Linked DNA regions of Homo sapiens: regions 1, 3, 4, 5, 6 and 7 are each linked to region 2. The links are contacts of gene promoters, found by promoter capture Hi-C in blood cells and fetal thymus (Javierre and others, 2016). All regions are on one chromosome and are shown on one strand. Each heading gives the region's core, a stretch centred on a gene start or on the middle of the fragment in contact. The rest is flanking DNA. Distances are from core to core; before and after follow the strand shown. Region 1 overlaps KANK1 (KN motif and ankyrin repeat domains 1). Region 2 holds the start of DMRT3 (doublesex and mab-3 related transcription factor 3). Region 3 overlaps KANK1 (KN motif and ankyrin repeat domains 1). Region 4 overlaps KANK1 (KN motif and ankyrin repeat domains 1). Region 5 has its middle 7.4 kb from the start of KANK1. Region 6 overlaps KANK1 (KN motif and ankyrin repeat domains 1). Region 7 overlaps KANK1 (KN motif and ankyrin repeat domains 1).

Region 1 (3,207 bases), core at 551-3,050, 350 kb before region 2:
GTCCAGATGGGAGATGAAATCCAAATGCTCCACCAAAGGGCTTTGGTTTGTTCTGGGGAGCCCTGGTGCTGCCGAAGCCTCTTGGGAAGGAAGGAGGGAAGAGGAGAAGAAAAGATACTAAGTTTGGTTTTCATTAAAAATTTTTCCAGGTTTTCTTTAAACTGATAGGTTCAGGGTCTTTTTCATACAACAGTCTACTTTTAGAGCTTTTGTTCGTTTGTTGTGTCATGGGAATTTATAAGGGATGGAAGGAAAAGGGGGACAAGGAATGGTCTAATTTCGGTCAGTAGAAGAATACCTGAAACCTGTTTAAATTTATTTGGAACTAATGACTTCTACTTTTAGTATCCATAAAAGACTTCCCTTGGAGCACAAAGAAGTTAATAATCTGTGTATATTGTCACTTCATGCTCTTCTTAAGCGCTGTGTGTTGGGGCACTGCTCTAGGTGTGGTGAAAGACTGCTACAGGATAAATAAGTCATGGTCACTGCCCTGGAAAGAAGCTTAAAATCCAGTGGGAGTAAATGATAAATGCATAATGACCTAAATGTCAGATGGATCTAGTACGTACCTGGAGGATTGCATAGAAGCATCCTGACAAGGGTGCCAAGAATACGCAATGGGGGAAAGGACAGTCTCTTCGAAGAATACTGTTGGGAAAACTGGATATCCACCTGCCAAAAAATAAAATTGGACCCTTAACACCATATACAAAAATCAACTTGAAATGGATTAAGACTTAACTGTAAGAGGCCGGGTGCAGTGGCTCATGCCTGTAATCCCAGCACTTTGGGAGGCTGAGGCTGGCGGATCACAAGGTCAGGAGTTTGAGACCAGCCTGGCCAACATAGTGAAACCCCATCTTTACTAAAAATACAAAAAATGAGCCAGGCGTGGTGGCAGCACCTGTAATCCCAGCTAATCGGGAGGCTGAGGCAGGAGAATGGCTTGAACCTGGGAGGCGGAGGTTGCAGTGAGCTGAGATCATGCCATTGCACTCCAGCCTGGGTGACAGACCGAGACTCCATCTCAAAAAAAAAGAAAAGAAAGACTTAATGGTAAGGCCTGAAACCATATAATTTCTAGAAGAAAACACAGGGGAAAAAAGCTTCTTGACATTGGCCTTGGCAATGATTTTGTTGCTGTTACCTCAAAGCACAGGCAACAAAAGCAAAAACATACAAGTGGGACTACATCAAGCCAAAAAGCTTCTGCACGGCAAAGGAAACAACCAACAAAATGAAAAGGTAACATACAGGCTGGGAGAGAATGTCTACAAACCATATATCTGGTAAAAGGTCAATGTCCATAATATACGAGAAACTCGTACAACTCAATACTAAAATAAAAAAAAAAGTGGAGGTGGGGCAAAGGACCTTAATAGACACTTTTCCAAAGAAGACACACAAATAGCCAACAGGTAAATGAAAAGATGCTTGCCAGGTACGGTGGCTCATGCCTGTAATCTCACCATTTTGGGAAGCCGAGGCAGGTGGATTGCTTGAGTCCAGGAGTTCCAGACCAACCTGGACAACATGGTGAACCCCTGTCTCTACAAGAAATACAAAAATTAGCTAGGCGTGGTGGCATGCACCTATAGTCTCAGTTACCCATTAGACTGAGGTGAGGAGGCTGAGGCAGGAGGATCACCTGAACCCGAAGAGGTCGAGACTGCATTGAGCCAAGATCATGCCACTGCCCTCCAGCCTGGGCAACAGAGTGAGATTGTGTCTCAAAAAAAAAAAAGAAAAAGAAAAAAAAAAGAAAAATGGTGCTTGACATCACTAATCATTAGAGAAATGCAAATCAAAACCACAATGAGATATTATCTCACATTTGTTAGGATGCCTGTTATCAAAAAGACAAAATATAACAAGTTTTGACAAGGATATGGAGGAAAGGGAACCCTTGTACGCTATTAGGGTGAAAATTGGTACAGCCATTATGGACATTGGTATGGAAGTTTTGTAAAAATCAACTATATGATCCAGCAGTCCCACTTGTGGATATATGTTTAAAAGACATCAAATTAGTATGTCAAAGAGATATCTTCACTTCCATATTTATTTCAGCATTACTCACAATAGCAAAGATATGGAAACAACCCAAGTGCCATTTATCTTAGGAATGGTTAAAGAAAATGTGGTATATATATACAGGATAGAATAATATTTAGCCATAAAAATAAGGAAAGCCTGCCATTTGCAACAACATGGATGAACCTGGAGGACATTATGCTAAGTGGAATAATCCAGACACAGAAAAACAAATACTGTATGATCTCAGTTATATGTAGAATATAAAAACGTTGAATCCACAAGCCAAGAGTAGAATGGTGATTGTCAGGGTCTGGGGCATGGGAGAAACGGTGAGATGCTGGTCAAAGGGTACAAGCTTTCATTTATAAGATGAATATGTTCTGGAGATTAGGGAGCGTCCTTAGTCTTTTCCCTCTCCATGCAGAGGGTAACTATGTGTGATGACAGATGTGTTGATTAATTTGATTATGGGAATCAATATGCAATCTATATTTATATCAAATAATCACATTGTATACTTTGAATACGTATAATTTCTATTAATTATTCCTCAATAAAATTAGGAAAATCAGAAGCATCCTAAAAGTTGCATTAAAAACAATGATGAAAACAGGCCGGGTGTGGTGGCTCATGCCTGTAATCCCAGCACTTTGAGAGGCTGAGGTGGGTGATCACTTGAGATCAGGAGTTTGAGACCAGCCTGGCCAACATAGTGAAACCCCATCTCTACTAAAAATACAAAAATTAGTCGGGCGTAGTCATTCCTGTAGTCCCAGCTACTCGGGAGGCTGAGGCAGGAGAATCACTTGAACCTGGGAGGTGGAGGGTGCAGTGAGCTAAGATCACGCCACTGTACCCCAGCCTGGGTGACAGAGCGAGACTCTGTCTCAAAAAACAAACAAAAACAATATCCCCTTTAAAAACGCAATGAAAAAAATAGCTGCCTTACCAAGCCACCAGTGAGAGCCCATCTCTGAGGAAAAGGGGTGTGCAGCCGGACAGGCTTCAGTTTAAAAGCTTAAACCTTGACTTGGACTTACTTTATGCCCTGAGCAAGCTATTTAACTTTTTTGTTCCTTAATTTCTAAATTATGAAATGGCAGTGGAATGAAATGGAAGATGAAATTGTGCCTTGTTCGATGCCCTGGGGTCTGAAAGGTGCTCCTA
Region 2 (3,482 bases), core at 219-2,718:
TAGAACGCCTGGAGGTGCTTCCCTTGAATTCATGGCAAACACCAGAGGAAAGTTTTCAGGTTGCTTGCTTACTTCCAGGGCAGTACAGAGAAAAGCGGCCTCCCCGAGGGGACAAGGGCCTCTGTGCCCATGAGGGGTCGGACATTGCAGCGGACTTGCCTACGCTCTCATCTAGCATTTGATTCCCCACCAGGAGATGGGCTTGGTGCACGCTCTCAGAAGCGCATCCACCGAAGGCTCTGGAACTGCCCCGCTTCGCATAGAGCTATTGTGCTGCCCTGCAGTGTATCCACTTGTTTTGTTTGTTTGTTTGTTTTTTGGTTTTTGCTTGTTTGCTGATGGGCAGTGGGGAGGTGCGAGGGTGGAGGGCCTTCTTTGTGCATATATAGCGATAGTCTGCACTAGGCCAAGCCCGCTACTCCTGGGAGAATGGGAACACGCAAATAATCTAAACAAAGTTTTCTGCTGTCATCTTGTGAAGGACCCTCTCCCCCAAGACATCTATGACTGGGGTCTATGGGTTAAGGAGGTGAAAAAGTGGCCCCATCCCATATCCATAACTGAATCACAGAATCCGTGGGGATTTGAACTGAGTGGCTGGCGCAAGACCTCCGTTTGCTTCCAGTAGCTGCTGGGAGCGAGGGAAGAGGATATCGGTAACTTTGGGGGCGCCAATGTGGCTTCTGTGTCTGCCCCTTGAAAGTTTATACCCGGCGCTTAACAAATCCTTTACAGGAGCACGTACGTCCCTGACCTTTCAGGATACTGTTTTATATTAAAACATGGACAGGAGGGTAGAAAAGTAAAATTCGCCTGCAAAATGGCTTGTCATCCTTGGGCCGGCAGATCTCCAAAACCATTTTCTTCTAAAGCAACAAAAGAGAAAAAAATACGTTCTAAAAGGAAATTACGAAAAGAGCCTAACTTTCCTAAACCAACATCACTTCACTCCCCTATCCTAAACTCCACCCAGGTCCGGGGTGCAACCGCAACACTCCCGTAGGTTCGAGTTCTCCCGGAGCTGAGCTTCTGCGGCCAAATGTCGGGATAAAAGCGGCCTTGGGCTCGGAAAAACGCGGCCAGATCTGGACTGGAGGGAGGAGAAGAGAGAGAAGCGGAGCGGCCACCTCACTCGCTTACAGGCACCCCCACCCTCACTCCCGCTGGTCCTCCCCTTCTCCGCCCCGCGAGCACCGCCGCGTTCTGGAGCGCCGCAGTCTCCAGCCGCGGGCTGGGGTAGCGGAGAGGGCTTGGAGGAGGGGGCCGCGAGCGCCCCCGCGAGAGTGGCCTGGCTGCAGGTGGCAAGGAAGGTGAAGTGCAGGCACCCGAGGGGCGCAAAGGAGGAGGAAGGCGTGGGGCGGGGAGTGCAAGGAGACAGGGACCCCAGGGGCGGGGGTGGCGGTGGGAAGGAGGAGGGGTTGGGGGAGGGCGGCGGAGGTGTTGGGTCCGGCCGGCTCACGAGGGAGCTGCAGAAGAGCTGGCTCAGACCTTAATCAGAGCTGTCGCCGGCTCCTTGCAGCCGCCGCAGCGCCTCCGCGAAGGAGGACGTGCCGACCCGGCTGCGCGCCCAAGGCAGAGGCCCGCGTCGGCGTTGGCTGGGCGTGAGCTGGGAGGCCGAGCTGTGAGCGCGAAGGGAGCTGGAGAGACGACTGCGGCACCTCCGGCCGCCCCGGAGCACACACGACCACCGGGGCTGCGGGACCAAGGGCCGCGTCGCCCGGAGGCCGCCCCTGAGCGGGCCTCGCAGCCCCGCCGTCCAGCGCTCCCTGGCCCTCTCCCGCAGCCAGGCTGCCAACTCATTCGGGAGCCCGGGGCATGAACGGCTACGGCTCCCCCTACCTGTACATGGGCGGCCCGGTGTCGCAGCCGCCACGGGCGCCCCTGCAGCGCACGCCCAAGTGCGCGCGCTGCCGCAACCATGGCGTCCTGTCCTGGCTCAAGGGCCACAAGCGTTACTGCCGCTTCAAGGACTGCACCTGCGAGAAGTGCATCCTCATCATCGAGCGGCAGCGGGTCATGGCTGCGCAGGTGGCGCTGCGCCGGCAGCAGGCCAACGAGAGCTTGGAGAGCCTCATCCCCGACTCGCTGCGCGCTCTGCCAGGGCCCCCGCCGCCGGGGGACGCCGTCGCCGCCCCGCAGCCGCCGCCAGCCTCTCAGCCGTCGCAGCCGCAGCCGCCGCGCCCTGCTGCCGAGTTGGCCGCGGCCGCCGCGCTGCGTTGGACTGCCGAGCCGCAGCCCGGGGCTCTGCAGGCGCAGCTCGCCAAGCCAGGTAAGAGCGTCTGAGGTGCGGGAGTTTGGCCGGGCGCGGGGGCAACTTCGGAGTGCCAGCTGCAGCTCCACTTGGGAGGACTGGAGGCAAAGTTTTGGGACGTGGGCCTGTCGGGGCTTTCCTTCCTACTCTCCGCCAGGCCGGGGCTTCCTCTCCCGGGAGAAGCCGGCTGAGTCTGGACCCAGCGCGAGTGGCACTCGCGCCCGCAGGGAAGGCGCCTCCGGGCAGCCAAACGACGGGACTGTGCGTCAGTATCGCCAGGTGCCTTCCCAGGTTGAAGGGTTCGGAACGTGTCAGATTGAGCAGGGAGACAACGGAGTTGAGACAGGACAAAATTAAAACCCACGTGCGCACACTCACTACGGTGGGGTCGGATTTTCCTGGCTGCAGGCTTTAGAGGTCCTTGCCATTTGGGGGTTGGAATGGGTAGGTAGGTGTAGGGAAGGAGCCAAGGCCAACACTCGGCTGAGTCGAGCTGGCTGTGCTTCTCGGCCGGCCCGGCCCTGCCCAGGGCCCAGGAAAATTTGAGTGAGGACAAGTATCCAACTCTCAGAACCCTGGCCTTTCTAGCTTTGCTCCGTGGCCTCCAGACTCTTGTAACTGGTGAAATAAGTTCCATTTAGCAATGATAGTAAAAGGGTCCGGAAAGGCTTGTGAGCTGATAGCGGGAAAAGAATCTGATGCGCCCAGAATTCACTCCTTTGCAGAACCTCCTAGATCCTTTAACACTGTTCCCCAGGCTGCCCTCAGCTGTCTTCGTGGTTTAAAGGAATACAAAAAATCTGATCCCCCACCACCCATCCGTTTCCATCCAGGCCTCCTGAGCTTGGCAGGCCTGAGTTGAGTCTCTTAGTCTCTCTCTTCCTGGGGAATTTCTAGCTTGCGGTTCTGCCCAGCTCAAGAGCTCTTTTGATGGCTCTTGGAATTCAGTGGATATGTGTTTGGTGTTTCTCCTTAACTGGGGCAAATGTGCAAAGGAACACAGCCCACCTTCTCCCGGAAGGGGGCATGCTGGAATTAGGAGTGGGAAGGTCCAGAGCCCTCCTGTAAGTAGAACTGTGGCAAAACTGGTACCTACACTGACCTGCCAACTCCCTAAAGACGGTACCCCTAGCTTCGGAGAAAGGCTTTCAGGAGCCCAGGACTGCTTTGTCTGGATCCTGTGGAGCTGAGGAAGTGAGGCGGACTCACCTGTTTCATGGTGAGTCAACGG
Region 3 (3,056 bases), core at 486-2,985, 420 kb before region 2:
TAACCTGTACTTAATAGGTTTAATGGAAATTAAACCCAAATATAATGGAAATCTGAATGAATGCTCATTTAAAAAAATATAATTTATAGCAGTGGTTCTCAAACTTTAGCGTGCATTTGGGTCCTCTGGAGCATTATGTTAAAACACAGATAGCTGGGCTCCAACCCCAGACCTTCTGATTCAGGAGTTCTGGGACTGGCGTACAAATGTACATTTTTGACAAGTTACCAGCTGTATGAGGGTTCTCCAAAGAGACAGCATAGGTATATTAGGAAGGAGATTCATTATAGGAATTGGCTCATGTGATTACGAAGGCCAGGAAGTCCCAGGATGTTCCCCAAGAAGTCTCAAGATCTGCCATCTGCAAACTAGAGAACAAGAAGGCCATTGGTGTAATTCAGTCTGAGTCTGAGGGCTGAGAACCTGGGAGCACCTGGCGTAAGTTTCCATCTCCATCTGAGTCTGAAGATCCAAGAACCAGGTGCGCTGATGTCTGAGGGCAGGAAAAGATAGAAGTTCCAGCTCAAGCAGAGAGCAAGTATTTGCCTTTCCTCTCCCTTTTTGTTCTATTCTGGCCCTCACTGATTGGATGACACCCATCCACACTGATGAGCATCCATGTTGGCGGTCTTAACCCTTTTCCCACTTAGAAAAAAAGTGCGGTTTGTGGCCAGTGCTTATTTAATTTTACATAAACAGGCTGTTGGAGGCTAAAGCAAATCGGACTGATTTTCAGTGTGAAAATAAAATAGAAAATATTATTTCTAAACAGAACTAACATCACAACCATCTGAATTATCAGAATCATCTATTTCAGAAAAATCGGATTCATCAAATGAATCTTCCATCAACTGTTAGAGAACGATGTTAACATCACTCATAGGAATGCTATGTTTTCTAGGATTTGACATTTTCAGCAATTGAGAATTACTATATTTTGTAAATGGAAATGCCACTACTAAAAACAGAATCCTATAAATAGGATGATGTCTTTTGTTTCCAAAGTCGATATACTAGAACGATGTGAAAATTTAAAAAACGAGATCTTTCGTGGCAAGGTTATCTTGGGGTAAACACTGCAGCTGCAAGCACCATGGGCAAGTATTCTCAGGGCAAACAGGAAGAGAGTTAGTGAAGTCTACTAATTCAAATGCTGATCTCTTCTTGGCACACCCAGAAGTAATGTTTTACCGGCTGCCTGGGCATCCGTTTGCCCAGTCAAGTTGGCACGTGAAATTAACCTGCATACCAGGTAATGTTTCTGCTGCTGGCCTAGCGACCACACTTTGAGAACAACTAATAAGTCATAAGACAGTAGAACCCCTGGATAGTAATAAGTGCTCGTGAAATGAGCTGGCCAGTAGCTAATCCCTGAGAAAGCCATTTCCTAGTCTTATACCACGTCAGTAATCCAAAGCAGGATGGCGATCTGAAGTCCTGAAGAGTCAAGGGTGATACGATGACTCTATGGAGCCATCACCACTATTGGGAAGACAGTGGGGACACCTGCCTCCCCTACCTTCCACACCATGTACATGATGGCACGTGACTTAGATGTGCAAACTGTGCAGTGTCAGCTTTGTGATGATAAACTCTTCCACTCAGTCTGCTATGTATATGGCATAGTCACTATACTGCTAAATTAAATAAATCAAATGAGTGAACATAAATCAGGATTCAGATACCAATTAGGTAAAATACTATAGTTTGTATATGATGGGGATTATCCTTTTTCTGGAATGTTTCAGCATCCAACCTTTGCTGCGTTTGTCTTCTTGCAGTGACTGAGAATTAGCTGAAATAACTGTAAAAGCGTAAGATTCCCATTTGGCTGGAGATGAAATCACAGAGGTTGGTTTACTAAGCCTTAAGAAATTCCTTTAGATTTGATGTGTCCAGACTTGTACTGGAATATGAAATATTCAATTTGACAAGATCTGTGAGTTCCTAGTACATACGTGTTTTTAGAAATGTGTTTCTCAAAATACAATTAGGAAAAAATCCCTTTGAAATGCTAAAACTACCTTTAGTGGTGATAAAGATGCCGACAACCCCTTCTGTTTAAATAAAAACAAACAACTTTTAACCTTCATGATGTTATAATAACATCATTAACTTGTGTAGACAAACATCAGTGCTCACATTTAAAGTAATCATTAAACATTTTCAGAGTTATACTTAAAATGACTTTTTAATCATACTATAAAATACTGCTGCAAAGTTGTTGGTGGGGTACTAAGTTGTAGTTCTTATTTCTTCTTTCTCTACAGTCTGTTTTGGCTCTACCTTGGGGGGAAAATACCCAAAGAATTGTAACTGAATACAGAAGCATTTTAAAAAATCTTATTTTAAAGAGGAGGAGAAATTTTAGAGCTATTTCTGATAATAAACCTCAAAAAGTGAGAAGTATTAGAATTTATCTTGGTTAATTTTCTTTTTTTAATTAACGAGCATGCATTGCTTATATAAAACTTTTCTCTGTATGTGTCTGTATCTGATGCAGTTAGAAGTTCAATGTGAGTTTAGTGATTCCCAGGGAAGACTTAGGGAACCTTGGTTTCTGAGTTGTGCTCTCCTCTGACTACGTGGTGAGTCTTAGTCTCTGGAGTCAGCCAGATCCAGATCTTAGTCTCATGGAGTTAGCCATGATCATTTTAAACTTATAATTATTAAAGTGCTATGATGTACAAAGGTGCTTATGAAACTAAAATTTGAGGAATTAGATACAATGACTATGCGGTTTTGCTTTTTAGTAACTGTTTCTCATTACTTCATTGATCCAAAGTGAGATTTTTAAAGCTAAAGTCCTTGTTCCATTAAGATAATTCTGTCATTTGTCCAGTTACTCTCCTTACTCAAATTGCTAGCCCCTTTGGTACTTTTCTCTCTAGCTCTTGCCCTGCTTCATGATGTTCCTGAATAGTTTTAGTTTTCTTTGTTTATTTTTCCACTTTCTTGGGCCAGACCTCCAATTTAATTCTTTTAGTTGAATGAGCTGCTTTCTCGCTTGTTACAGACTCACTTAGGGCTCATTCCTCCCTGCCTTAGTCCCAGTA
Region 4 (3,498 bases), core at 954-3,453, 370 kb before region 2:
GTTTCCCTTATTGCTAGTGCTATTCGTGTGGACTCATCATGGACAGTTACTTCATTCTGTGGGTTATAACCCAATATTATCATCATTATTTTCTTCTTCAAATTATTCTAGCTTTGGCCACTGGGAGCTCCTTCAGGCTGACTCTGATGTCCTTTTGACATGCTTCCATCTTTTTTCAAGTACTTCCTCACATTATGGCATCCCCTGATGCTCTAGGCTAATCTTGTATTTTCCTTGCCCTACTTTTGGAATCAGTCACTTCCCTAAGGAGCCTGGGTCCTTTTACTGGACAATGGTGTTTAGAAACCAATATCTGAGTACCAGACGTGCACATTGCAACTGGGGTGGCTTTTTGTCTTCCATGAGTTTTATGGTGAGCTCTTTCCTGTGAACATGGTTGTACCAGGTCTGAAACTCGTTTTTAACACTTCTAGGTAGTCAGTCACTTTGATGTAAAGTCATTTTGATCACTTAATGTTGAGTTGTTAAAATCAATGCACATACCCTGTAGAAAAATAGGTTCTTTATCAATGGAATAGATTAACTTTTTGTGGAAAAATACTTTTACATTGATAGGATAGCATTAGCATCCAGACATTTTTGACATTCCTTCAATAACTATTCCTGAGTTTCTGACTCTCATTTTTAGCCCATTCCATTTTTATTTATTTTATTTTATTTTATTTTTTGAGACGGAGTCTCGCTCTGTTGCCAGGCTGGTGTGCAGTGGTGTGGTCTTGGCTCACTGCAACCTCCCGCTCCTGGGTTCAAGCGACTCTCCTGCCTCAGCCTCCCAAGTAGCTGGGACTACAGGCATGCACCACCATGCCCAGCTAATTTTTGTATTTTTAGTAGAGATGTGGTTTCACCATGTTGGCCAGGATGGTCTCAATCTCTTGACCTCATGATCCGCCTGCCTCAGCCTCCCAAAGTGCTGGGATTATAGGTGTGAGCTGTTGCACCCGGCCCCCATTCCATATTTTAATGAGAATATCTTTTGGTTAGTTATAGAGGTAAATACCTGGATTTACAATGTGTAACTACAGATTCATCATCCTATAATAAAGTAACTCTTTTTGCATAAACTTTTGATAAGTTATTTTTGTCCTTATAATTTTATGTGTGAAGTCTTTACGGTCAGAGGACATTGACAAAATATTTTAGATTGAAAGCCTGTTCTCCTTGATGATTCAGTATAACTTCTTTTGACTGCGCTTTTAGTTCTTGCAAAATAGATCTTGTTTAGATGAGATTCCAGCATGACTCCTTTGTAATTTTTCATATTTTTGCTATTACATCTCAACTCTTGAAGAGCTATTTCTGTGAAAACCAAACATGCAGTCAAGGCACATTCCACGTGTGGCTGATGGGGTTATCATAGTTACAAATCATATTTATCCACAGTGATAATTATCTTCCTTAGCGTTTTGTTCTACTTCAGAGCTCATTTGTGGGCCTTACCACCTGTTTCTTACATATGGGGAAAGAGTCTCTTATTCTCTTTTGGAATATAGATCTAAGAGTAGATTTATATCAGGATTTGAAAGATGAATCTTTTTCAAGGATGTTTTTCCTCTGGACCGTGGCATTGTGTAAGAAATTTCCCTACTCATCCCATCCCTGGGGCACATTAATTTGGAGATGATGTTAAATGTGTCAGAGTGTGGCACAAATCTCAACTGGCAGATAAAGCCTAGTATTGAATTGTTTTCAGTTCAGAAACGTGGCTGGCTGACTTTGACCCTGAATGTGTAAATTATCTTTGCAGCAATAAGAACTTGAAGTAGCTTTGATAGCTAATCATAGTATGATAACTCAGCCAGAAGAATTCACTAAGAGCAGTTTGTGTGTCTTCCATCTAATGTAAAGGTTAGTAATGTAAGTCATATTCTTGGTGCCTTTAGACCTAGTTATGCAGAGAGACATCACATTGACATTCAGTAATTCTTACTCTTAACAGTTCCTTAACTCTAAAATCATCTTTTTCCTTACCTTTCCCTAGTTCTAGAACAGCAAAATATTTTACTTAGATTCTATCATTAATTAATATACTCGTTTGAATTTTTCTCTTCTAAAAAATGTAGGCCAGGCATGGTGGCTTTACACCTGTAATCCCAGGACTTTGGGAGGTCGAGGCGGGCGGATCACCTGAGGTCTGGAGTCCGAGACCAGTCTGGCCAATGTGGCGAAACCCACCCCGTCTCTACTAAAAATACAAAAATTAGCTGGGTGTGGTGGTGTGCGCCATAGTCCCAGCTACTCTGGAGGCTGAGGCAGGAGAATCACTTGAACCCGGGAGGCAGAGGTTGCAGTGAGCCAAGATCACGTCACTGTATTCCAGCTTGGGTGACAGAGCAAGACTCTGTCTCAAAAAAAAAAAAAAAAAAGTAAAATTATTTTGGCCTTACCATGCTTGGTTTCTTTGTCTTTGTTTTTTCATTCACTTTATGTTTGGGGAGGAGAATGGAGTGTCAGTGATTTCAGCAAAAAGTTGGGGTACCAGTTCATAATAAATTAGTGTCTAAGATTAATGTTACAGCTGATATTCAAAGTACCAAATACGTTATTGTTCTGATTATTCTGGTCCTTAAATTTGTCTCTTTCCTGGAGACGTGGTAAACAATAATGATGATTCTAATAATGACCATTTATTGAATGAGCACTATGTGTCAGACATTGTACTGGTGATGTGGTTTGGCTGTGTGTCCCTACCCAAATCTCATCTCAAATTGTAATCCCCACGTGTTGAGGGAGGGACCTGATGGGAGGTGATTGGATCATGAGGATGGTTTACCCCATGCTGTCCTCCTGATAGCGAGGGAGTTCTCATGAGATCTAATGGTTTAAAAGTGTTTGGCAGTTTCACCCTTGCACCCATGTCTCTCTCTGTCTCTCCTGCTGTCATGTGAAGAAGAGGTCCTTGCCTCCCCTTGGCCTTCCACCGTGATTATAAGTTTCCTGGCCGGGTGCAGTGGCTCACACCTGTAATCCCAGCACTTTGAGAGACCAACGCGGGCAGATCACTTGAGGTCAGGAGTTCAAGACCAGTCTGGCCAACATGGCGAAACCTGTCTCTACTGAAAAAACAAAAATTAGCCGGGCGGGTGGCGCACACCTGTAATCTCAGCTGTTCGGGAAGCTGAGGCAGGAGAATCGATTGAACCTGACAGATGGAGGTTACAGTGAGCCAAGATTGTGCCACTGCACTTCAGCCTGTGTAACAGAGTGAGACTCTCTCAAAAAATAATGATAATAGTAAGTTTCCTAAGGCTTCCCCAGCCATGCAGAACTGTGAGTCAATTAAACCTTTTTTCTTCATAAATTGCTCAGTCTCAGGTAGTTCTTTATAGCAGTGTGAAAATGGACTAATGCAATTGGGCAATGTCTGACAGTTTGCAAATACCATCTCATTTGTTTTTAATAGAAACCTCCTGCTGAGAGTGGTGGCTCACGCCTGTAATCCCAGCTCTTTGGGAGGCCGAGGCAGGCAGATCACAT
Region 5 (3,149 bases), core at 117-2,616, 480 kb before region 2:
AAAAACCTTCATTTTTATCTCCCATTAAAGTTTGTCTGATGAAAAGGCTCTGAGGCTCAAATGACAGCTCAGTTGTTTGAAACCTGCTGGGTTAGAGAATGGTGCTATAAGGTTAAGATCAAAAGGTCACCAGGTCAGGGTTTCCTTGCTGAGGAAGAAAAGCTTCAGTGACAGTGACTCAGTGTAAAGTTATCATCACTAGCATAATTAAACACACACACACACACACACACCACAATGCATACACTGTCCCAGCTGGAAGGGGTCAGGGTGGACTTCTGGCTCTGGCCTCCAGCAACCTGGGTTCAAATTCTGCCTCTACCACTTGGCACTGTGGCTTCTTGCAGCTATTTGAACCTCTGTGAGCCCCATTCTTCTTGTCTGCAAACTGTAGATAATAATCATGACTACCTTACAGGAGAAGTAAATTGGTTCAGAGAACACACTTAACTACAGTGCCAAGCATGGAAGTAAGCTCTCAATAAGAATTATTGATTATTAAAACTACATTCTTGGCCAAGTGCAATGACTCACGCATGTAATCCCAGTACTCTAGGAGGCCGAGGCGAGCGGATCACTTGAGGCCAGGAGTTCCAGACCAGCCTGGCCAACAGGGTCAAATCCCATCCCTACTAAAAATACAAAAATTAGCTGGGCATGGTGGCACATATGCCTGTATGTGCCAGCTACTCGGGAGGCTGAGGTGGAAGAATTGCTTGAACTTGAGAGGTGGACGTTGCAGTGAGCTGAGATCGTGCCACTGCACTCCAGCCTGGACAACAGAGCAAGACTCCATCTCAAAATAAATAAATACATAAATAAATTCATAAATAAATAAATGAAAGAAATAAAATTATATTCTTGTTTTAGTTATAACAACATTTTATATGTCTCTCAAGCCAAAGTCTAATAGCATTACAAGTTGTTTTTGCACATGTATCATCTCCCTTTAAAGGACAGATAGTTTCTTGGGATTATTCTTATTTTTGTCCTTTATGAAGCCTAACCCAGCACTTTCAGCACAGCAGGCCTTCAATAAATATTTGGTAAATAAATAAATAAATGTTCTAAATAAAGTGGATCTGCAGGGACAGGTTTGTACACATAATCCCTCTACTTAGGATCCTAGTAGAATGACATACACATTCTGAATGCTCTATAAATATTTTATAATAGTAACAATGATATAATAATTATAATTATGAATGAAGATTACTCTTAGCTCAATTTCCTGAACTAGAATTATGTCCTTCAGCCACGGAGAAAATGTATTCATACAGGGTTCCAGCTTAATGTAAACAGAATTGTAACTTGATTTTTAAAATAACTAAAGCAAATGAACCAATGTGTCCTTTCCTTTCCTTTCAAACAGTTGTTTCCAGGAACCAGAAGTGTGGGGCTATCATATGCAAGTTGTGATAAATTAGGTCTTTTCCTTCAACATTTAGTCTCAAAAAAAAGAAAAAAAGGAAAAGAAGACTCCTTAAGGGCAGTATGACCATGGGCAAGGGTGAGGGAACACACAGCTTTCCTTAGTAAATCTCAAGCCTCCAAGGTTGGCGTTGGAAAGGATCTGCAGGTAGCAAATCCAGCTGTCCCACTGTGCACGCCCTCCCCAGTTCACCTTTTCTCTGAGGGAGACTCATTGGTGCTCAGGTATGCATGTGACTCTTCACACACACACACACACTCACACTCACACTCTTGCCACCATGACTTCCATTTAATGTTCAAGAATTCTTCTCTCACAGCTCTGTAAAATATTTGAGAAGGACAAAAACTTTCAAAAAACCCTTAATTATAACTGTAGTATATAACCATTTTTTTAAATGAAATTAAGGAGAGTATAAATTGGAAGGCTGAGGTGGGCAGATTGCTTGAGCTCAGGAGTTTGAGATCAGCCTGGGAAACATGGCAAAACCTGTCTTGACAAAAAATACAAAAAATTAGCCAGGCGTGGTGGCGTGTGCCTGTGGTCCCAGCTACTTGGGAAGCGGAGGTAGGAGGATCAGTTGAGCCCGGGAGGTCAAGGGTGCAGTGAGCCGTGATTGTGCCACTGCACTCCAGCCTGGGCGACAGAGTGAGACCCTGTATTAACCCCCCACACACACACACCCACACACACAAGAGTATAAAGAAGAAAATTACTTCTAGGGACCACCCCAGTTCCATCCGTCCCAAAGGTCTGGTATGACTTCGGGGATCTCTCGCTGGGGTGTCTTCCTTGCTCCCTCCTGACTTGCTTCCTTGCTGCCATATACCCTCTTAGGCCCTGATGGGAAACTCAGGGCACGAGATTTCTACCTGCAGCATACCCAAGGCTCATTCTGATCCAACTTACTCTGTGAGGTTTGATCCTTACTGCAACTTAATGAAAGAGGCACAGGTAGGTATTACTGCCATTTTACAGACAAGAAACTTGAGGCTTGGGGAGATTCAACAGTTGGGCTATTGCTATTTGCACACAATTCCAAGTATTTAGCAGATAACTAATTGCACCACACGAAGGTCTACTACAGAAATGGGCTGATGGGGTGAAACTCGGAACCAGGGCAGATGCTCTTTAACTACAAAGCTTGTATAACGCGTGGTCATGTTCAGTATTAATACTAGATTAGCTTAACTGAATTCTGAGACAATGGACACAAGACAAATTAGATTTGATGAGAAAGGAGGGAGAGGAAAGGTTCTAAACATGGGCATGCTGTCAGTAGGATAGTCCTCCTTGTGACCCACAACTGACAGAATGGAGGAAAATATTTTAAATCATATATCAGATAAAGACTAGTATCACTTATCAGATATGAATAAAGACTTCTTACAATTCAATAATAAAAAGACACATAATCTAATTTAACAATAGACAAAAGATGTGAATGGACATTTCTCCAAAGAAAATATACAAATGGCCAATACGAATTCTCAACATAATTAGTCTTAGAGAAAAGCAAATTAAAGCCACAGTGAGATACTACTTCATAGCCACTAGGATATCTATAATCAAAAAGAGGATAACAACAACTGTTGGCAAAGATTTGGAGAAATTAGGACCCTTATACATTGTTAACAGGAATCTAAAAGTGTATAGCTACTTTGGAAAACAGTTTGGTAGTTCCTCAAAAAGTTGAACATGGAGTTGGCTGGGCGAG
Region 6 (3,236 bases), core at 681-3,180, 390 kb before region 2:
AAAAAATAACATTACCCATTGTTAGAGGGGGTGTGGAGGAGTGGGTATTGTCATGTGCCACTGGGTCAAACATTGTGTAGGGCAAATTAACAATATCAGATCCTCACATTTTCTGTACATTTGACCTTGACCTTATCCCAGGCAAATACTTGATGGTATAGTGAAGGATATCTTTCTCAGCATTACATATATAATCAAAAATAAGAGGTGACTTAAGTGCTTCAAGGGAATTTATTAAAATGGATTATTGATCAGTCATTAAAAATGAAAGCATACAAGACTATTAAATGGTACAGAATTTCTATCAGAATAAGTGGGAAAAACAAGTTACAAGTAATATCATATGATTTACTTTTAGTGAAACTTACATGCACTTACACATTTGTGTATTATGTTTATGTGTCATGCATACATATAAAAGTGGAAGGCGGTTCAACAAAGTGCTAATTATCCTCATGATTTTTATTTTTTCTTTGATTTTTATGAACTTACAGTAAAGAACAAAGTACTACTTTGAAGGAAGAAAAATTATTTTTTAATAATTCAGCATAAATTACATAGGTTATCCAAAGATAGTAATATGGTATTTGATCTGAACCTAGACTTCTGTTCTGTTGATTTGACACATTTTGGTGTCTTTCCTTTTATGTTAAATAAGTAACTATCATTTACCTACAGCAGAAGAAGAATATAACTTAGCATTTGAGACTTGATAACATAGAGCTGTTGAATAGTTCTGTAAGATTTGTTAGGGAACCAAAACCAGGCATGTGAGGATGGTGCTGGAAGAGAAAAGGCGGGAAGGGTTTGCAGTCAACTGTCAGTTATCTTCAGCTTTCAGGCTCGCTGCACATGGACAGGTGAGGACCAAGGGAAGAAGAGCAAGCTTGGGTATTTGGTTGAGCTGTTAAGTTCAGGGTTAGAAAATGACCAGCACAAACCTTTTGGCTTGAGAGCCAAAGTTCTTGGCAGGAAGTCTCTGCTTGTTTCCGTTTGCCTTCCTCCCAGTTTCTCCTCAATGCCTTGCAGTCAGCATCCTGTATCTGCCATTTTGAAAACTGCCCTTAGGGGTCATGAGTGACCCCCTTCCTTATTGTTAAACCCAGTGACATTTTGTCCTTATCTGCAGCATTTGATGTGTTACTCAACTCTCTTTGGGCTTGTGTGCCTCTCCACCCTTGTGGTTATTCTCCTGCCTCTGTAACCACTCAGTGTCTTCTTCCATGTCCCTTGACCCTTCACTGTGTCTTCTACTGATTCCCCTTAGAACTTTCATTTACCCCTGGAGCTTCAACCATCATCTTCAGGTAAAACTCTAGCAACAAGTCATCTTTGCCCGCTGTGCATCATCCTTGCTGCCATTGAGAGTTTGGTCTTAAAATGGTACTTGCAATTAGAACACGTTCACTTTGTCACAAAATCTGACAGACATTGGACATACTTAGAATTCATATCTGGCTTCCTGAGACAGCTGTCAGATTGTCTACCAATGGTCTACCCATTGATGATGGAACAAGCTCCTTGTATCAGCCTCAAATAAAAATGATGGAATTAATAAAAGACGCTTACCTTAAGGCACAAAGGCCTATGAATTTCAAAAAGCATTGACAGAACCGATCCAAAAAATATGTAGTTTGTAAAAACTCTAATACAATCCACACTGAAGTAAAAAGCTTAACTTAGAATAATCCAAATAGTCTTTGTCAGCTGGACAGCTAATCTTGGTGAACATGGAAGAGTAGACAATAATGTTAAGGCATTGTGTGAGGGTTAAATTGTTTGCGAGGTCGGCATTGCTGGGGCTTCGGATTCAAACTGGGCCTTGAAAGAGGGGGTAAGAAAAGTCTATGGGGAACTGATGGGCACAAAGGCAGGGTGTAAGTGTTTGTTCTTGGGAAAATGATCAGACTAATCTGATTGAATAGAAGACGTTTATTGGAAATTAAAGGAAGATAAAGTAGTGATAGATAATGGAAGAACTGAAGGTCAACAGGGGAGTTTATATGTGATGGAAGAGAAAATCATTATCACTAGGGATGTAGATGTAAGAAAACGTTAGGTTTGGAAGTTATAAGACAAGAGAACTTCAAAGTTTGTGGGATTCTGTAAGGTGGGATGGGAATAAGCAATATTGTTGAGTACCTGCTGTGTGATCTGTAAGGCATAAGATGTCATTATTATTTTACAGCAAGCTTTGGAGTAGATGTACTAGTTCCCATTTTATGCATAGTGAGATGGAATTTTGAGCAGACATACTTGTCTAAGTTTGGCAGAGTGGCTGGACCAGGATTCATGCCCAGTGACATCTGACTTCAAAGCACAGTGAGGATGGAGAATGTTGAGACCAGTTCTTCATTTTACAGTCAAGGGGATGGGCCCAGGCCTATTCAAGGTTACAGGAATAGGATGAAAGCAATTTCTCTGTAAGAGAGAGTGGATAGGCTGTGATCTGCAGAGGGTCCAAGTTAGAGGCTCTTGTTATAAACAGATGAGGTATGCCAAGGAAGTTGGGTTCAGCAGTGTGATAGGAGTGAAAAAGAAGGGGTAGAGAGCAGCTGGACATTCGGGGAAAGTGGTGGTGACTGTTAGTGGAAGGTAATGACGAGAGAGATGACTTGAAAACAGTTCCGAGGTTTTAGTCCCAGGGAACTGCCATTAACAGTTTTAGGAGAAAAGCCATGTGTGTGTTATGGAGTGGTCTGAGTAAGTATGATAGACATTAAAAAATACATAAAAATAGAGTGGTATGCATGTGCTGAATTATGTTTGTACTACCAAACACACGGAGGAGGAGAACAGAACAGAAGGTGGAAAGCTATGAGGGATCCAGCGCTTTTCTTTGCAGTGGTGGAGAGTCACGAGAGCAAATAGCTAGCCTTTACCTAAAGCAAAAGGGACTCTTTGCATGATATCTTAGGCTCCCTTTTATTCTGGCCTGCCCCTGCACCCCCAGCAGGAAAGTGGCTTAACTGTACTTTGATTTCCAAAATGCGTAGCAGTCTCTAGTATTGATTCCCCTCTCCTGCAGATCTCAAGCCTAAAAATGAGTATTGTTCCATTACATTTCCCTCAAAAACATTTCTTTTTCCTTTCAGAATGATGGTCACTATACTGGATGGACTTCTGAACTAGTGAATTACTTTCATCTTTTGATCACACTAGGAAATTGTCCACGGAGTTGAAATATTTATTGCAGTAATTTCTGGCCTTACATAATTAAGATAACATATCGTTTT
Region 7 (3,017 bases), core at 110-2,609, 340 kb before region 2:
AAACAGTGCCACACCCTCTGCCTTCTGTGTGTGTCTCAGGCTGTAAGTAAAGTCTCCGTCTTAGTCCATTCAGGCTGCTGTAACAAAATGCTACAGACTGTGTAATTTATAAGCAGCATAAATTTATTGCTCACAGTTCTGAAGTCTGGGAATTCCAAGATCAAGATGACAGCAGATTCAGTATCTGGTGAGGGCCTGTTCCTCAAGGATAGTGCCTTCTATGTCCTTACATGGCAGATGGGCAAAAGAGCTAACAAGCTTCCTCAAACCCTTTGTAAGGGCACTAATCCCATTTGTGAGGGTTCTACCCTGATGATTTAATCACCTCCCAGAGGACCCATCCTTAATGCCATCCCGTTGAAGGTTGGGTTTCAAAATGTAAATCTTGGGAGACACAAAACATTGAGAACCATAGCAGTCTCTCAGACCTCGTTGTACTCAGCTTCATTTTAGGATAACTCCACATTTGAGTTAAGAAACCAAGAGTTTGTATTCCCAACTCTATGCTTCATGAGGTTAAAGACTCTTGGCTTCTCATTCTCACTGCTCAGGCAGGGGTAGTCCATCTGAATGGAAACTCCTTTTTGGGGGGCACACATCATTTTTATTTTATTTTATATTTCTGAGACAGAGTCTCGCTCTGTCGCCTGGGCTGGAGTGTGTGATCTCGGCTCTCTGCAGCCTCCACCTCCTGGGTTCAGGCGATTCTCCTGCATCAGCCTCCCGATTAGCTGGGATTACAGGTGCATGCCATCACGCCCAGCTAATTTTTTTTTTTTTTATACAGAGTCAGTCTCTGTCTCCCAGACTGGAGTGCAATGGTGTAATCTCGGATTACTGCAACCTCCGCCTCCCAGGTTCAAGTGATTCTTCCACCTCAGCCTCCTGAGTAGCTGGGATTACAGGCGCCTACCATCATGCCCAGCTAATTTTTGTATTTTTGTACAGATGGGGTTTCATTATGTTGGCCAGGCTGGTCTTGAACTCCTGATCTCAGGTGATCCACCTGCCTCGGCCTCCCCAAGTGCTGGGTTTACAGGTGTGAGCCACCACGCCCGGCCTAATTTTTTTTTTTTTTTGAGATGGAGTCTTGCTCTGTTGCCCAGGCTGCAGTACAGTGGTGCAATCTTGGCTCACTGCAAGCTCTGCCTGCCGGGTCCACACCATTCTCCTGCCTTGGCCTCCCGAGTAGCTGGACCTACATGTGCCCGCCACCAGGCCCAGCTAATTTTTTGTATTTTTAGTAGAGACAGGGTTTCACCATGTTAGCCAGGATGGTCTCGATCTCCTGACCTTGTTATCTGCCCGCCTCGGCCTCCCAAAGTCCAGGGATTACAGGCGTGAGCCACCGCGCCTGGCCACCACTTTTAAATGTCTGTGTTGCAGTGAAATTTTAAAAGAGAGAGCTAAATTTTGATGTCAGTTTTTAAATAGATGCTGCCAAGAGCCATGTTGATAGCCCAAACCAATTTTCCATTTATACCAGTGATATACTTCAAGCCTGAAAAATGTAGTCCAGTGTGGGAAGAAGCCCTGTGATGGTGAGAAATGCAGTAAGAAACTGGGTTCTCCCATGGAACTGATAATTAATGCAATCAGATATGAACAGTATGTTTAAGGATAGTCTGGACATGAATGTGTATAATCTGTCTTTATCAGATAAACAAATAAAAGTCTTTTACCTAATCGTCGTTTCCTGAGTTAGAAGAATCCTCCTTATCAGATACCTGCTTTGGTCATTGGAAGGAAAGTAGAACATCCATCTTGGTGGTGATCCTTGTTTCTTAGTACTCTGTATATCCTTTCCAAGAGACAGGTTTCTTTTATGAAATGGCTAAGATCATCTCCACCACCATGAACAACATGCAAATGGAGCTGCTGCACAAAGTTTAGGGAGTTCTAAGCGTTGGGATTCCAAGGCATATTACCCTGTACTGAAGAAACTCGGAACAGAGGCATCCTCAAATCCTAACTGCAAGGAAGCGTAGCCTGTGTCCTTTGTTGATGGAGGAATGATTCAGTGAGAAAGAACACAGTGATTTTTTTCTCTACCTATCTTACATCTTACTCTCTTGCCATTTCTTGTAACACCTTTTCATCCTGTCTTAACCTTCAGCTACCAGCTTACCCTGATCGTAATGACAAGGAAATTCATACATTTTGGTTTTTTAAGGACTACTTTATTAAGGTATAATTCACAAACCATGCAGTCCACCCTTTAAAGTATACGATGCAATGGTTTTTAGTAAATTAACATAATCGTGTAACCATTGGCATAAACAACATTAGAACATTTTCATCACCCCAAAAAAGAAAACCCATACCCATTGGCAATCAAAAGCCGATTTCCTCCCCAACCACCACACACCCCCCAGCACTAGGCAATCATTATTCTACTTTCTGTGTCCATGGGTATATTAAATACTGTGTTGTAACTGGAGATAGGATGCCCATAGTCAGAAAGCTTGAGCTCACATGAACTGTTGGCTTGGATTTCTGTGCGGATTAAACCAGCTTACTTCTGACACGGCAGATGCTGGGCTTTTTAACCTCTTTCCTCATTGTGCTTCCTGACTTGTTACCTCTGTATCATAAAAGCATGAAAGGTCGTAGAATAAATGAGTCTGCAGAAAACTGCGTGGTTAAGTTACCCCATTTGTGTTTTACAAAGATAGCGGAAGGGAATAACCTTTGAGGGTCACATACAAAAAGCCATTTCCTCATCCTCCCTAACCTTAAAAAGTCGACATTATTTTTACAGCAGCTTCTCTAAATTGACTTACACTTGAACAAACTAAAAACTACAAGAAGAGTAGAGCTTAGCTGGCAGGCCTGGTTTTGAACAAGTGTTTGATTTTGCTAATCTTGGTAGTGCATAAGGTCACTTTTGTAAATTTCCTGTAGAAAAATTCTTGGTTCTTGGACACACTCAGCTACTAGAACAGAGAGATGGTTTATATTTTTTCTATGAATTACCAGCTGATAAAATTCCCCTCCTTTGAGTGGGAGAAAAATTC

The links. Contacts are between HindIII fragments. The CHiCAGO score rates a contact against its expected background, and 5 or more counts as called.
Region 1: a fragment that was not itself captured here is called in contact with the fragment with the promoter of DMRT3 in region 2 in 1 of 17 cell types (monocytes); the score reaches 6.6 in monocytes.
Region 3: a fragment that was not itself captured here is called in contact with the fragment with the promoter of DMRT3 in region 2 in 2 of 17 cell types (monocytes and M1 macrophages); the score reaches 6.2 in monocytes.
Region 4: a fragment that was not itself captured here is called in contact with the fragment with the promoter of DMRT3 in region 2 in 1 of 17 cell types (monocytes); the score reaches 6.0 in monocytes.
Region 5: a fragment that was not itself captured here is called in contact with the fragment with the promoter of DMRT3 in region 2 in 1 of 17 cell types (monocytes); the score reaches 5.3 in monocytes.
Region 6: a contact is called between a fragment that was not itself captured here and the fragment with the promoter of DMRT3 in region 2, in 1 of 17 cell types (monocytes). The highest score is 5.3, in monocytes.
Region 7: a fragment that was not itself captured here is called in contact with the fragment with the promoter of DMRT3 in region 2 in 1 of 17 cell types (monocytes); the score reaches 6.7 in monocytes.

What each region holds. Positions count from the first base shown.
Region 1 is chr9:621,870-625,076 of GRCh38, forward strand. The region is part of intron 1 of KANK1 (KN motif and ankyrin repeat domains 1); the gene reads left to right. Among named protein-coding and RNA genes, the nearest start is that of KANK1-AS1, 62 kb to the right of the region's middle. RefSeq lists an enhancer at 1-667. The HindIII fragment of the contact is 1,186 bases long and covers 1,208-2,393 here.
Region 2 is chr9:975,187-978,668 of GRCh38, forward strand. DMRT3 (doublesex and mab-3 related transcription factor 3) reads left to right here and starts at 1,469. Exons shown (of 2, transcript NM_021240.4): 1 at 1,469-2,269. The coding sequence starts at 1,816. RefSeq lists enhancers at 1-102, 635-1,136, 1,137-1,636. The HindIII fragment of the contact is 15,659 bases long and covers 1-3,482 here.
Region 3 is chr9:553,815-556,870 of GRCh38, forward strand. The region is part of intron 1 of KANK1 (KN motif and ankyrin repeat domains 1); the gene reads left to right. Among named protein-coding and RNA genes, the nearest start is that of KANK1, 51 kb to the left of the region's middle. The HindIII fragment of the contact is 3,607 bases long and covers 1-3,056 here.
Region 4 is chr9:601,590-605,087 of GRCh38, forward strand. All of the region lies in intron 1 of KANK1 (KN motif and ankyrin repeat domains 1), which reads left to right. Among named protein-coding and RNA genes, the nearest start is that of KANK1-AS1, 82 kb to the right of the region's middle. The HindIII fragment of the contact is 5,861 bases long and covers 1-3,498 here.
Region 5 is chr9:495,758-498,906 of GRCh38, forward strand. It overlaps a transcript of KANK1 not described here. Among named protein-coding and RNA genes, the nearest start is that of KANK1, 7.4 kb to the right of the region's middle. The HindIII fragment of the contact is 2,413 bases long and covers 161-2,573 here.
Region 6 is chr9:583,920-587,155 of GRCh38, forward strand. All of the region lies in intron 1 of KANK1 (KN motif and ankyrin repeat domains 1), which reads left to right. Among named protein-coding and RNA genes, the nearest start is that of KANK1, 81 kb to the left of the region's middle. The HindIII fragment of the contact is 519 bases long and covers 1,672-2,190 here.
Region 7 is chr9:639,636-642,652 of GRCh38, forward strand. All of the region lies in intron 1 of KANK1 (KN motif and ankyrin repeat domains 1), which reads left to right. Among named protein-coding and RNA genes, the nearest start is that of KANK1-AS1, 44 kb to the right of the region's middle. The HindIII fragment of the contact is 2,206 bases long and covers 257-2,462 here.